4 separate regions of the Homo sapiens genome follow, and regions 2, 3 and 4 are each linked to region 1. The links are contacts of gene promoters, found by promoter capture Hi-C in blood cells and fetal thymus (Javierre and others, 2016). All regions are on one chromosome and are shown on one strand. The core of a region is centred on a gene start or on the middle of the fragment in contact, and the rest is flanking DNA. Distances in the headings are between cores, read along the strand shown. Region 1 holds the start of RPL34 (ribosomal protein L34). Region 2 overlaps LARP7 (La ribonucleoprotein 7, transcriptional regulator). Region 3 holds the start of AP1AR (adaptor related protein complex 1 associated regulatory protein). Region 4 holds the start of PPA2 (inorganic pyrophosphatase 2).

Evidence for each region. Contacts are between HindIII fragments. The CHiCAGO score rates a contact against its expected background, and 5 or more counts as called.
Region 2: a contact is called between a fragment that was not itself captured here and the fragment with the promoter of RPL34 in region 1, in 2 of 17 cell types (neutrophils and total B cells). The highest score is 7.8, in neutrophils.
Region 3: a contact is called between the fragment with the promoter of AP1AR here and the fragment with the promoter of RPL34 in region 1, in 1 of 17 cell types (neutrophils). The highest score is 5.9, in neutrophils.
Region 4: a fragment that was not itself captured here is called in contact with the fragment with the promoter of RPL34 in region 1 in 1 of 17 cell types (total B cells); the score reaches 6.4 in total B cells.

What each region holds. Positions count from the first base shown.
Region 1 is chr4:108,618,876-108,622,040 of GRCh38, forward strand. It overlaps RPL34 (ribosomal protein L34), which reads left to right and starts at 1,701. Exons shown (of 5, transcript NM_001319236.2): 1 at 1,701-1,725; 2 at 3,076-3,149. The coding sequence starts at 3,085. It overlaps RPL34-DT (RPL34 divergent transcript), which reads right to left and starts at 1,582. Exons shown (of 4, transcript NR_026968.1): 1 at 1,433-1,582. RefSeq lists enhancers at 1,239-2,438, 1,664-1,713. The HindIII fragment of the contact is 3,742 bases long and covers 1,231-3,165 here.
Region 2 is chr4:112,642,425-112,645,589 of GRCh38, forward strand. LARP7 (La ribonucleoprotein 7, transcriptional regulator) reads left to right here. Exons shown (of 13, transcript NM_016648.4): 2 at 2,244-2,447. The coding sequence starts at 2,246. Among named protein-coding and RNA genes, the nearest start is that of MIR367, 3.9 kb to the right of the region's middle. RefSeq lists a silencer at 1,281-1,382. The HindIII fragment of the contact is 2,597 bases long and covers 373-2,969 here.
Region 3 is chr4:112,230,214-112,233,378 of GRCh38, forward strand. It overlaps AP1AR (adaptor related protein complex 1 associated regulatory protein), which reads left to right and starts at 1,574. Exons shown (of 10, transcript NM_018569.6): 1 at 1,574-1,961. The coding sequence starts at 1,879. AP1AR-DT (AP1AR divergent transcript) reads right to left here and starts at 1,937. Exons shown (of 1, transcript NR_186684.1): 1 at 1-1,937. RefSeq lists enhancers at 1,347-2,294, 2,319-2,368 and silencers at 1,399-1,678, 1,839-2,108. The HindIII fragment of the contact is 11,290 bases long and covers 1-3,165 here.
Region 4 is chr4:105,471,324-105,474,488 of GRCh38, forward strand. PPA2 (inorganic pyrophosphatase 2) reads right to left here and starts at 2,739. Exons shown (of 12, transcript NM_176869.3): 1 at 2,571-2,739. The coding sequence starts at 2,727. RefSeq lists enhancers at 1,920-2,089, 2,380-2,499 and a silencer at 2,720-2,929. The HindIII fragment of the contact is 1,188 bases long and covers 836-2,023 here.

The sequences.
Region 1 (3,165 bases), core at 451-2,950:
CTTTGAAGTTTTTAATAAGATTGCCATATCTCTCTCAAGACTGATCAAGAAAAAATGCAAATACAAATTTAAAGAGAGGGAAAAATAGTATTATGGAACTGGGTTAAGTACCTTAAGGGAAAACTACAACAATGAGACCACTATTCTTATCTACTTGGGTGGGGGAAGGCACGGACAGAGACGTAAACAACAGCATAGTGTGCCAAGGGCTCCCATCTCCTGTTCTCTTCTGCTCTGCAAAGTCTCTCTTAAAATATAGAGAACATATTGCAAGTAAATACATTCATTAGTGCATTTATTCAAAAACCACATTTGTCTCTCTATGCAAGCTTCCATCTCAATGCCTGGCACAGAGACGAAAAGGATTTCAGAGGACAAAAATCAAAGGACTGGAAAGGAGGGAAGTAGCTGATGACAAGGTCGGGGGAGAAGCAGCTATTTGAGAGTGAGCAGAGGGAAGGATATAACCAGAGCCTTCCATCTGGTGTTGTGACAAAGATGGCAGTGATGTGAGGCTTGATAGAATCAATAGGCCTCACAGTTCAAGACAGACTACATGCCCTCAGTCACTTGCCTGCTTTCTTGGTTTGCTAGATGGATTAGAAATACTAGAAGGAAAGTTGAGTGGGTACTGGGATATCCTATCCAAATCCTCTCTTCTGGGGCAATGCAGCTGCCTCACAGCAACCACGTTGTGGATCACCTGACCCCGCCTTTCTCAGCTTCCTGGAGGTGCATTCTAAGAGCGCTCCCCATAAGCCAACACTCAAGTCTCTTCGAGGTGTGTTTCCAGGGAGCCTGATCTAAGATTAAAAACTTAAAGGCCCCTTTTAGAATTGTCTTTTACAGCCCAGGCAAAGAGTTCTTTACTTTTTTAGAGGTCATGAATCCCTTTGACAAGGTGATGAAAGCCAGGGACCCTCTTCTCAGAAAAATACACACGTGCGCTTAATGTAAAATTTTACATACTGTTTTAAAGGTTAAACTTTACCACCCATGAAAAGCCTCAAGTAGTTCTTTGTACATAATCATAAGATTAGCAACCATTTACTGAGCACTTCCTCTCTATAAGACCCTGTGCTAAGTGCTTTAACTTCATAATGCCTTTGATCATGACATAACATGGCACGGTAGTTCCTAATATCTTCCTTTTAGAGATTTAAGGGCTTGCTCAAAGTAACATAGCTAATAATTAGCAGACACTGGATTAAAATCCCAATTTGTTTGTAAAGCTTGTGCTCTGAATAAATGACAAGGAAAGAGAAGGGAAGGTTGAAGAAGGGAAGGTTCTTGAAGGTCCCTGGTCCTTGAAGGTCCCTTAACCATAAATGTCAAGAGTTGGGATTTAAACCCAGGTCTAACGCCAGAGCTGGCGCCCTTTAGATTAAAAGTGCAGTGTCCATGACAACGAAAGAAGTTGATTTTGTCCCACCTTTGCTCTTTGCGGCTTTTCATTTGCGTTTGTTTCCACAGCGATTTCCAATAGATTTCTGCGTGGCCTTGACACAGACAGCTAGTGTGAATCCCCGCCCACAGAGGGGCGGCACGTTGGTTGCCGTACAACGTGGTGGTTCCCTGCATCTCTGCCCACGTCGGAGAGGTGCGTCGGCTTCCGTACAACACGGATACTCTCTCTCTGACGCAACTTCCTGTCCTGCGCAATTCTATTTGACCTTTGAACTGGCAAAGGCTTTTTTCTTCCTCTTCCGGGGACGTTGTCTGCAGGTATGGATGTTGTTCTCTTTTCCCTGTCTTTATTTCCTTACCAATCGGCTGCCATCCGAGGAGCTGAGGAAGCCTAGAGCTCTCAGAAGCAGTCCTTTGAGCTGGTGTAGGGGTAAGGGGCACAACAGGGAGGTTGGTGGTGAGGAAGTTCCTTACTTTGATCTTTGGAAATCCCTTGTTCCTGGTGGCACCTCCAAAGCCGTGAGTAGCCACAGCTCACCACCCGGGACTTTGCTGCATTCCAAGTGTAGCGTTTGGAGACTAACGAGTTGTGGTTTGGCGGTTTGAGTCTGGAAAATCGCCAAACGTTTTCATATTTTACACCCACGTTTTCACAGCACGCCTGTACGTGTCCTTAGTCTTTGGGAGGGCAGGGTCCGGCGAGTTCGGGTGGTTTCGCTATTTGGCTTCTGCGTCCAAGGCCCATGTCAAGGAAGAGAAAAATGTGTTAGAAGTTTCTGTCTTGCTTTTGGAGATGCAAACAGAATAATGGCTTCATAAATCACTCGCACTGGTTTTACGTGTCAAGTTTTGGTGTCTGGTAATTCTGTTTTAGTTTAATTTTAGTGAGAGGCTTGTGACAACAAATGAGGTGGTTACAAGGGGTGGAATGGGAAGATTAAATTAGTTCAAGTATTGATTATGTTTTACGTTGGGTAGTTCCCTTAACGAAGTTGCTCGTATGCATATCTGTATAACCGATTTGCTAAATAACATCACGATGTTTCCAGAAGTGGGAAGAAAGCAGGTGCCATAACCCAAAGAAACTTGTGTAATATCAAAATTAGTATTAAAGGGTATGCCTTTACGCAGGTGGTGCTTTAGGGCAAGACATTGAACCCTGATATGTGCCAGGCATTGTGTTGGGACGGATAGCCCACGTCGTTTAATCCTAATGACAGCTGTATAAAGTAGACAGAATTCCCATGTTAGAGATAAGGAGGCTAGCTCCTTGCCCTTTATATTCCCAGTAAATGGCATAGCTAAGGATTCGACTTCAGAGCTCACTTTTTGTGCTCTTTGTTTAAAGCGGTGTTTCTCCAACTGGGCTCGTGGCACTTTTCTGGACACCACTCCAAACAAAATTAGACTCTGAGTAAGGAGCCTGGTCATCAGAACGTTAAGGAAGTGCCACGTTTGATTACCATCAGGAAAGCTAACATTCTTGGCCTCTTGTTTATCAGTCACCTTTAAATACAAGTAGTTTTAAAATGTGGAATAATACATCTTAATTTAAGGGTGTTACATACAAGGATATGTATGTGAATGAAATAGACCACATGATACTGTTTTGAGATTTTATTTACTTTTACAATGGAAAGATTTGATGTTACTCTATTCTTAATTTAGGCACTCAGAATGGTCCAGCGTTTGACATACCGACGTAGGCTTTCCTACAATACAGCCTCTAACAAAACTAGGCTGTAAGTATTTCTGAAA
Region 2 (3,165 bases), core at 421-2,920, 4.0 Mb after region 1:
TTGAGTTTGATGAGAATGCATGTTTAGTTGGAGATTTGAGGTGAAATGCATTAAGGGCTTTGTACCCTCTTACTGGATATCACTTTGAAACACATTATCTATTTCTGTTACTATCAGCAGCATCACTGTAGCAGTTAGAGATTCTAACCAGCAGTCAGACTCAAGAGATGCAAATACTGCTTACCAAAGAAGAGTCAAGGCAAAAGATAGGGTAGATGCAGCTTCTTCATCCCACCAGAGGCCACCAAGCCATTTACCCATATCTAGCAATTACCCAAATTCACTACTTTTTTCTCCCATTTACCCACAACAGGCATGTATGCCTTCCCTAGATAAGGACCATGGTGTATTTAGGACACTTTGACACGTGAAAGCTTTAACCTCTTTTGCCTATCAATCTGTTGTTCTGGTCACGTAGGCATAAGGCCTCCATGCCATCTAATAGCTGCTCCAAACCAGGTGCAACATGGGAAACAGATACAACACCCCCATTAGTCTCTCCAGTTTCCAAGAAGACTGTATTATAGGAGACTGAGGTTATTCTCAAGCAGCCTGTATTATCCCAGGCCTGATATTAATCCTTTGCTCCTATACCACTAGTGATTCAATTCATTCAACAAAATCGAGGCACAATTTATTCAACACATTTTTAAGTGACTGTATGGCAGGGACTGACAATATATCAGTAAACAAACAAAAATCTCTGATTTCATTGATCTTACCATCTAGGAAGGATAAACAACAAAGAAATAAATTGCATAGTGGTGATAGTAATGTTAGAAGATGATAAATGCTATGAACAAAAATAAGGCAGGGGAGTTACTGTGTATGTATCCAGAAATTTGCATTATTAAATATGATTGTGGGAGGGGACCGCACTGAGGTGACATTTAAATAAACACTTGAAGTAGGAGAGCAAGCTGTGTTATCTCTGGGGATATGTGTTTCAAAGAGAACAGGTTTAAAAGACCCCGTTAGACATTGCTGGGTGAGCTTCAAGAAGTGCAAGGACTGTATGGCTGGAGCTGACAAAGCAAAGGGGAAGAGATACTGAAAGTAACTTGAGGAAGGAGGGGGTTAGAAATTGCTGCCCAAGAAATAAACACTGGGATGAGAAGGCCACTTGAAAAGGCTGATTTATGGCTGGGCGCGGTGGCTCACACCTATAATCCCAGCACTTTGGGAGGCTGAGGCTGGCGAATCACCTGAGGTCAGGAGTTCGAGACCAGCCTGGCCAACATGGTGAAACTCTGTCTCTACTAAAAATACAAAAATTAGCCGGGTGTGATTGGCAGTGGTGCCTGTATTCCCAGCTACTTGGGAGGCTGAGGCAGGGAGAATCGCTTGAACCCAGGAGGCAGAGCTTGCAGTAAGCTGAGATCATGCCACTGCACTCCAGCCTGGGCAACAGAGGAAGACTGCCTCAAAGAAAAGAGAAGAGAAGAAGAAAGAGAAGAGAGAAGAGGCTGATTTCTACAGCTTACCAGTTGAATTCTGCCCCTAGAAAGCAGAAATTAACATTTTAAAAATCAAAATTGCCAGGCGCGGCGGCTCATGTCTGTAATCCTAGCACTTTGGGAGGCGGAGGCGGGCAGATCACCAGGACAGCAATTCAAGACAAACCTGGCAAACATGGTGAAACCCCGTCTCCTACTACAAATACAAAAATTAGCCGGGCATGATGGCATGTGCCTGTAGTCCCAGCTACTTGGGAGACTGAGGCAGGAGAATTGCTTGAACCCGGGAGATGGAGGTTGCAGTCAGCCAAGTTCACGCCACTGCACTCCAGCCTGCACAACAAAAGGGAAACTGTCTCCAAGAAAAAAAAAAAAAGCGAATACAACTTCTCTGGGGTGGGGCGGGGGCGGGGGGGTGTTGCGATGGAGAGGAGGGGGTGTTGCGATGGAGAGTGTCCACGTCCCTTAATCTTACACTTTTCACTTACTGACTTAAAAGTGCAGCTTAGTGAGATAAAGGTGTAATTTTTTATATTATTCTAGGATAATCTGGCCCTGTGTTTTAAAAGGTACAAAGAAACTAAAGCTATGATCCCTAACATAGAAGGTAAATTATTTTTAAATTTAATTTATTAAATATAAAAATGAATGTTCTTTCTGTTTGTCTTCTGATGGCCAAATGTGAGTCCATTATTCTCTCAGACAGTTAAAGGCTAATCTAAATATTTAACTATATTAGCTATTGTGGTGATTTAAATATTTACATCTTTTTCTTGTAATTCACAGGAATGGAAACTGAAAGTGGAAATCAGGAAAAGGTAATGGAAGAAGAAAGCACTGAAAAGAAAAAAGAAGTTGAAAAAAAGAAACGGTCACGAGTTAAACAGGTGCTTGCAGATATTGCTAAGCAAGTGGACTTCTGGTTTGGGGATGCAAATCTTCACAAGGATAGATTTCTTCGAGAACAGATAGAAAAATCTAGAGATGGATGTAAGTTTGCTTCAGTAAAGGAACCAATTTTTAGATATGGTTGCCTTTAAATTTACTTATAAAATAATATATTCTTTTTTTTTTTTTTTTTTTGAGTTGGAGTCTTGCTCTGTTGCCCAGGCTGGAGTGCAGTGGCATGATCTCAGCTCATTGCAACCTCTGCCTCCTGGGTTCAAGTGATTCTCCTGCCTCAGCCTCCCGAGTAGGTGGGACTACAGGCAAGCACCACCATGCCCGGCTAATTTTTGTATTTTCAGTAGAGATGGGATTTTACTGTGTTGGCCAGGCTGGTCTCGAACTCCTGACCTTGTGATCTGCCCACCTCAGCCTCCCAAAATGCTGGGATTACAGGCGTGAGCCACTACACCCAGCCTAAAATAGTATATTCTATAATGTGTATATTCGTTTCTGTAAGTGTGTTCCGTGTAATCTGTTCTAATTTTTATTTAGTGAATGACAATCTTCTAAATAAAGACTGTTGGTAACAGTTTAGGCTATATTAAATAAGCAATTTCAAATCAAAGCTTTTAAGTATTTTGGGATTTAATTGCTTCAATAACCATTCATCATGTGTAACTCGAGAGTGCTATACTTTAGTTCATACAAGAAGGCATTTCACCTAGCTCAATGTTATTTTTTGTTTCATTTTTTTGAGGCAAGGTCTATCTTTTTTCCCTAGGCAGGAATGCACTGGCTCCATGTCTGCTCACTCCAACTT
Region 3 (3,165 bases), core at 324-2,823, 3.6 Mb after region 1:
ATATACAGATGACCGTGTATATCTTTAATCTAGTTTCCCCCAGTGGTGACATGTTACAAAACTATTGCAATATCACAACCAGAATACTGACATTAATATAGACAAGATGCAGGATTTCCATTCCCTGACCCATGGCAATCAATTATTCTGTTGTCCACTTACATAAATTTATCAATTCTGAGATGTTACATAATGGAATTACACAGTATATAAGCATTTGAGATTGGCTTTTTCTTTAACCATAATTTCCTACAGATTCATTTCAGGGTGTGTTCATCAATACTGTGTTCCTATTTGTTACTAAATATTCCATAGGATAGATGTACCAGTTTCTGTAAACATTTATAGTTGAATTTTAATGATTATTTCATTAATACATTTGTCTAATTTCAGGGGTTGGAAGGAGAAAAGAAAATGCTTTCACTAGGAAGTCATTCGGTCATCCCAACATTCACTGAAAGCAAACCATTGGGACAAATGTTATCCTATGCTTCTGATTACAAAACAACTAAAACCCAAATAAAATAAACATTAGTAAGTAGCAGTGCTAAGATTGAAACCAGATACGTATTTAAAGAAGCAAGAAAATGAGTTCAGAGAACATTTTATCATCAATAAAAACTTTCTAAAATGTAACAATTTTTCTAGGTTTAATTAAACAGGCTAAAAACTTGATGTGTCCAGTCCATGAGAGCATCCTCCTATCCACTGGACGAGGTGTCTACTAAACCACATCTTATATCTATTGTGAGGCCAACTGTCTTGAGGCCAAACAAGACGCGAATTATATGGTAGCACTTGAGAGGGCTGCGGACACATTAGAGCAGCTTTCTCTTCCCATCTACAGCAGTTCTGGGCAGCATGCTTGGAATGGCAACGCTGACGTCCCCGAAAAACCCCAGCCCTCTTGCCAATTTCCTCTGAACCCCAACTACCCAACCCAAAATTATGTGAAGATCTGATTTTCAAACAAAACGAGGACAATAATGCACCATTATTACGTTTCCCTAAAACATTAACAGTATGGAAATTAAGACACAAACCAGAGACCGGAAAAAAATCTTGGTGCGTTCAAAGTAACCTCAATCAGTTCCCGAGTCTATTTTCCGCTTATGGTGCAGTATTAACAAAAACTAAGCACACCGTGCAGAGAAACGCCCCTTCGCACTTATGACTTCCGGCCTGGGACTCTGGCTCCTCACACGCCTTTGATACAAAGTTCGAAGGCTGAGCCTTAGCCATGCCACGCCCAGCGTGCTCCGGACGAGGATGCCCGAAACTGCAATGAGAGAGGGAAATTTCCTAGTCAGGTCAAGGTCCAACAAAACAAACGTCCGCACGCAGGAATTGAACCGTCTCGCAGGCAGAGGCGGCTGAACCAGGAGCGAGCGGAAGTGACGCACAGGCCGGTCGCCAGAGAAGGCGGGGCACCGAGGTAGCGCGCCCAATTGGGGCGCGGGAGAGGCCGGGGGTGTGGCAGCGTTGGCGGCGAGCAGGGGCCTGGGCGCGCTGGGGGCGGGGCCAGGGTGCTCGGCTCGCGGGGACTGGCCTCCTTCGGCAGCTGGAGGCGGTCACTCACGCTGGGCTAGGAGCTGAGGCGAGAAGGGCCATGCGGACGGCGAGGGAGTCCAGAGCCTTGAGCCCGGTGCTCCTCCCTCGCGCAGCGGTGGCTCTGCGGCCGCTGGAGTAAACACTGCCTTTGTTCCCTAGCGCCTCGTCTTTCGTCGCCCCGTGCCCTCACGCCGCCGGGCTCTGGCCGGCCCGCCCTCGGTCCTTGAACCCCATTTCGGCTCGTGCCGTGCGGATGCAGCTGCCGGGCCTGGGTTTGGGCATTGAGCGGGAGGAGGAGGAGGAGCGGCGGCGCCTGGGCGGCATGCGATGGGGAACTGCTGCTGGACGCAGTGCTTCGGACTGCTTCGCAAGGAAGCGGGGCGGCTGCAGCGAGTAGGCGGCGGCGGAGGGTAAGCCCGCTGGGGGAGGGGCCCGGCCCCCGTGGCTCCTCCTCTTCGGCCCCCGGCGGGGAATCCCTTTCACCGTCCCCCGGCGGCTGGAGGTGGCGGTCGAGAGCCCTGCTACACTCACTGCTTAGCAGACGTCAGACTGGTGGTCGTCTTGGAGGCCCAGTCTGGGGTCCGGTCTTGGGGCCTCCTCGGAAAGAGGTAGAAGAGGGGGCGGGGTGTCCCTCCTGCCAGGGCGCCCTGTCACGCGGGGAAGGAGTCACGGGAGACATCATCTCCAGGAAACAAGGGGTAGCTTCGCGCTAATGGGCTGTAGGACCGGCTCCACGGCAACCTGGACACACCCTGCGCTGAGCTTAGGTTTAACGCCAAAGCTAGTATCCCTGTATCTGACCCTCTCTTTAGCCCTGGCAGAGCAGGTGGGATCTGGCTCCGGAGTTAATGCCTCAGATTGATTTTAAGTAGAAGTCATTTGGATGCTGGAGTAAAATAAGGTTCCAGATACTGATGAACTCTGGTAGCTACAAAGACTTGCTGAATTGCAGAGTTCCCAATGGGCATTCAGATTCTTGGTGCTCATAACTACAGGGACAATGTGTAATTTTTTCGTATTAAGTTTTTGAAATTTCGAGAGGAATTCCTTGCCCTGATTGCTACTCAAACGTCCTGTAACATTAGGTAAATTGCAGTCCTTCTGAACTTCACTTCTCTTGAGTAAACCTGGGATATTGCTTAGGTTTTGTATATGCACCATCCACAGAATAGTAATTTCATAATTCCGTTTTTGTGTTTTTTTATTTCATATATATTGAAAAAATTAGAGCAAATTCCTTTGGGGTTGGCTTTGTTGTTATTAAATGTCCCTCCGGAATTCAAACCTAGAATTGAAAATCTGAACCAAGCCAGTTTGTGTAAGGACTAAGACTGTTTTGCACTTTCTGAAACAGATTGCTAATTTTTCATAATCTGTTCCATTTAACTAACATTATTGGGTAATAAGATGTTCAACATAAATAAATTGCAGTAAATGATCATAATTTGAATCTTTGGTAATGGAGATCTTATAAAATATAGGATTCTCATTCATTAATTAGGCATTGTGTCACCTCTCTGATACAAAATAGCTAAGGTTTTACACTAAGTATCCCTAGAATGGAAGGGCAAGGATTTGCAGTTTGTGCCTAGTGTAATATTTCGATTTCCCTAA
Region 4 (3,165 bases), core at 180-2,679, 3.1 Mb before region 1:
TCATCCTGTCTCACTCTTTCTACAAAGTTTAACACCAATTTTTTTTTAAGTATTACATCAATCATTTATTCTGATTTTACTGAATGACAGTAAAGAGAAACCATTTACAGACATGAAGCTCGAAAATGTTCTACCTCCCAATGCACTAGTATTTCAGAGACTTGGAATATATTTGGAGATGTGGAAAATGATTACACTTTAGTAACACTGAGTAACAATTTTAGGCCAAGTATACTACACTCATATTTTTTTTGAAGTGAGACATTAGTCCACCCTAGTACTGCATACAGACACACTGAGTAATAAATATCCAATCTGTGATCATCTTTATAAAGGGCAATTTATTCGTTGCTTTCCCCTTACCCCATTCGCCCTAGAGTGGCTTCGTTTCACTTTGCCCTACCCCTTCTAGCAGGTAGTAAACAGTCCTGGCCAGTGATGCCATCTGGCGGTTAGTTCAGAAATTGTTTAACCAACACACCTTCCAATCAGGATCTTACCATCGGGACCCTCTCCAAAACCACACTCCCCTTTCTTCCAGTTTTTGCCCATTTACCTTAGTAAAATCGGGTTTTCTTCTTTCCTGCCCTGTTTATCCAACTGAATGAAAAACGTATTTTATTTGTGGCACTCTAGTTACAGAAAAATCATGAGTCCTAAGTACATTTGCAGCTAAAGAAACAAACCAACAATAAGAGGCCAACATACTCCCAAAAATGCCCCCATTCGACATCCTGTCTTAACAGAGACTGTTAGAATCTCCGTTATTCATCCAATGCCTTCAGGGAATACCAGTGCTGAGAAGGACCTTGAGGATCATCGTTTCAAGGTCAAAAGCTTCATTTTACAGCTGAAGAAACTGGCTCTGTGAGAAAGAACTGAAGTAACCACCCACCCAACAGCACACAGCGAGTTAACGGCAGAGCCAAGATTATGGCCTAGGACTCCCCATTCCAAATCCGGTACTGGGTCAACTACTCTGTGCGCTCCTGGCTTCTCAAGCCTGTTTTTGCTCAACCAGTGTATTTACTTTTTCCATAATTATAGTAATATTGTGAATCTCTGTACTATGCCTAACAGTGTCTAGCACACTTCATAAATATTTATTATTTGGGTATCTATTAATTACCGTACTTATTGCAAATCTAGAATACTTGCAGTAGACAGGCCTTTTTTCAATCTGCTTAAAAAGCGAACTGCCACTTCATAATTTTTTCTGACTATTCCCATTAATCATCACATGGTAACCTTTTAGAACATAATCCATTCAGAAATTTGAGACTTCCTGTTCACCTGATCAGTCTTAACCAAAGATAGAAGAAAATATGTGGCATAGGGTGAAAACTGCAACCAATTTTGAAGAAAATAGAAATTCTAGTACTAGTTGCATTATAATCACACGACTTTAGGCAAACTCTTCTTTCCCACAAAATAATCCTCGACCCTAAACTCATGTAGCATAACTGCAAATCTCTCATAAATTACAAATATCTATAATGATTATCGGTATTAACAATAGTAATTTATATTTTAGGCCCTGTGACTAATCAGTTTACATATATAATGTCATGTAATACTTGCAGCCCTATTTTACGGATGAGAAAAAACAAGGCTTAGCAACTTAAACTCGTCCGGGGTCACAGAGTTAAGACGTGAAGAACTCGAGGGCCTGCTTAGAACTGAAAGCCTCCAGAGCCAGTGCTCCGAAAAGGGGAGCGATAATGCAAGGCCCACTTTGATACTACCACTCCAAGGCTCTGCAGTCAGTGGGGAGTGAAGGCAAGCGACCGACATCGCTATTTTCTGTTACGGTTAACGTACACAGTGAAACAATGGGGTACACGGAACAATGAGTCACGAAGACCTGGGTCCTTTCTCTGAGCTCGGCAACTCAGGGACCCCCCCGAAGTCGCTTAGCCTTCTGGGCTTGTTCAGCTTGGGGAGGAAAAGGGGCTGCTCCGGAACCAACGAGGCTTTGGATGGTGGATCACACTCAGGGTGTAAACTTGTGCGTACCAAGTCAAGCTTCTGGGGAAAGAACCTTCATCAGAGTCCCTCCAAAAAAAGAAGACGCGCTGGATTAGGCATCCGCAAAGTTCCGCCTGCCTCTCCGACGTCAGGGAGCTCCCGCAGTAGGAGGTTTCTTACGCCTCTAGGAAGGCCGGCGTGTGGGCGGGCTCTGCCTTCCCTTCCTCACTGAGTTGTGTGAACCGGGAACGGCGGCCGGGCCGGCTAATGGCTGCAGGCCGCCGCGGGGTGGCCGCTTGCACTCTGCCTACCCCTCGGGGAGGGCGGCTGGCAGGGCACAGGGCGCTATCTACCCCCCAGCCGGCAGCCCTGCGCCTCTGCTCTCCGCTTTGGGGTCTTGATCCGCCGCCTCCTCGCTGGCAGTTCTCGTGACTCGGTGCGCGCTCCCGCGGGAAGTAAGGTGGCCTGGACCGCGCGGCTACCGCTGAGGGCCCCAAAAAGAGAGAAGGGAGACCGCGCGGGGCGTCCCAAGTGTCCCCCATTCCATCCCCCACCCAGGTTTCTCCGGTGCGCCGCTCGGCGAACCTCCGGGAGCTACTTACTAAAGAAGAGGCGGTAATTCTGCGAGCAGGGCTGGCCGCGCTCCTCAGTGTGGTACAGGGCCATAGCACGGCGCGACCCGGTCCCTGCACTGGTCCCCAACCGCAGGCACGCAGCGGCTGGGGCACCCGTGCGCAGCAGCCGCAGCAGCGCGCTCATGGCGTCAATGACGGTCCTGCTGTGCGCGCGGAGCTACCTGGGGGCTCGGCCGGGCCGCACGCCGGTGCCCCCTACCGTCCGGAGTCATCCCTCCCGCCCCGGCGCTCGGGCTGCGATCCTGGTCCCTGCCAGTGGAATCTGGAACACCAGCCAGTTGTGCGCACTATGCCCTCAGCGAGGCCGCAGCTCAAAGACGAGTGAGACAAGACCCACCACCCCTGAAGAGCTCACTGCCACTCGTTAATTCATACATTTATTCATGCCTTCATTTATCCCGTCAAGAATTACTATCATGATTTTTTAGTATAGTGATGTAATATTGAGTGATTACTCTGTGCCAGGAACTGCTCTAGACCCTGTCCAATATAGGAGATGAGCGCACATGCACGCAAAGACATCACTATAAGACAAAATGATCAGGCCACCACGTGAAAACGG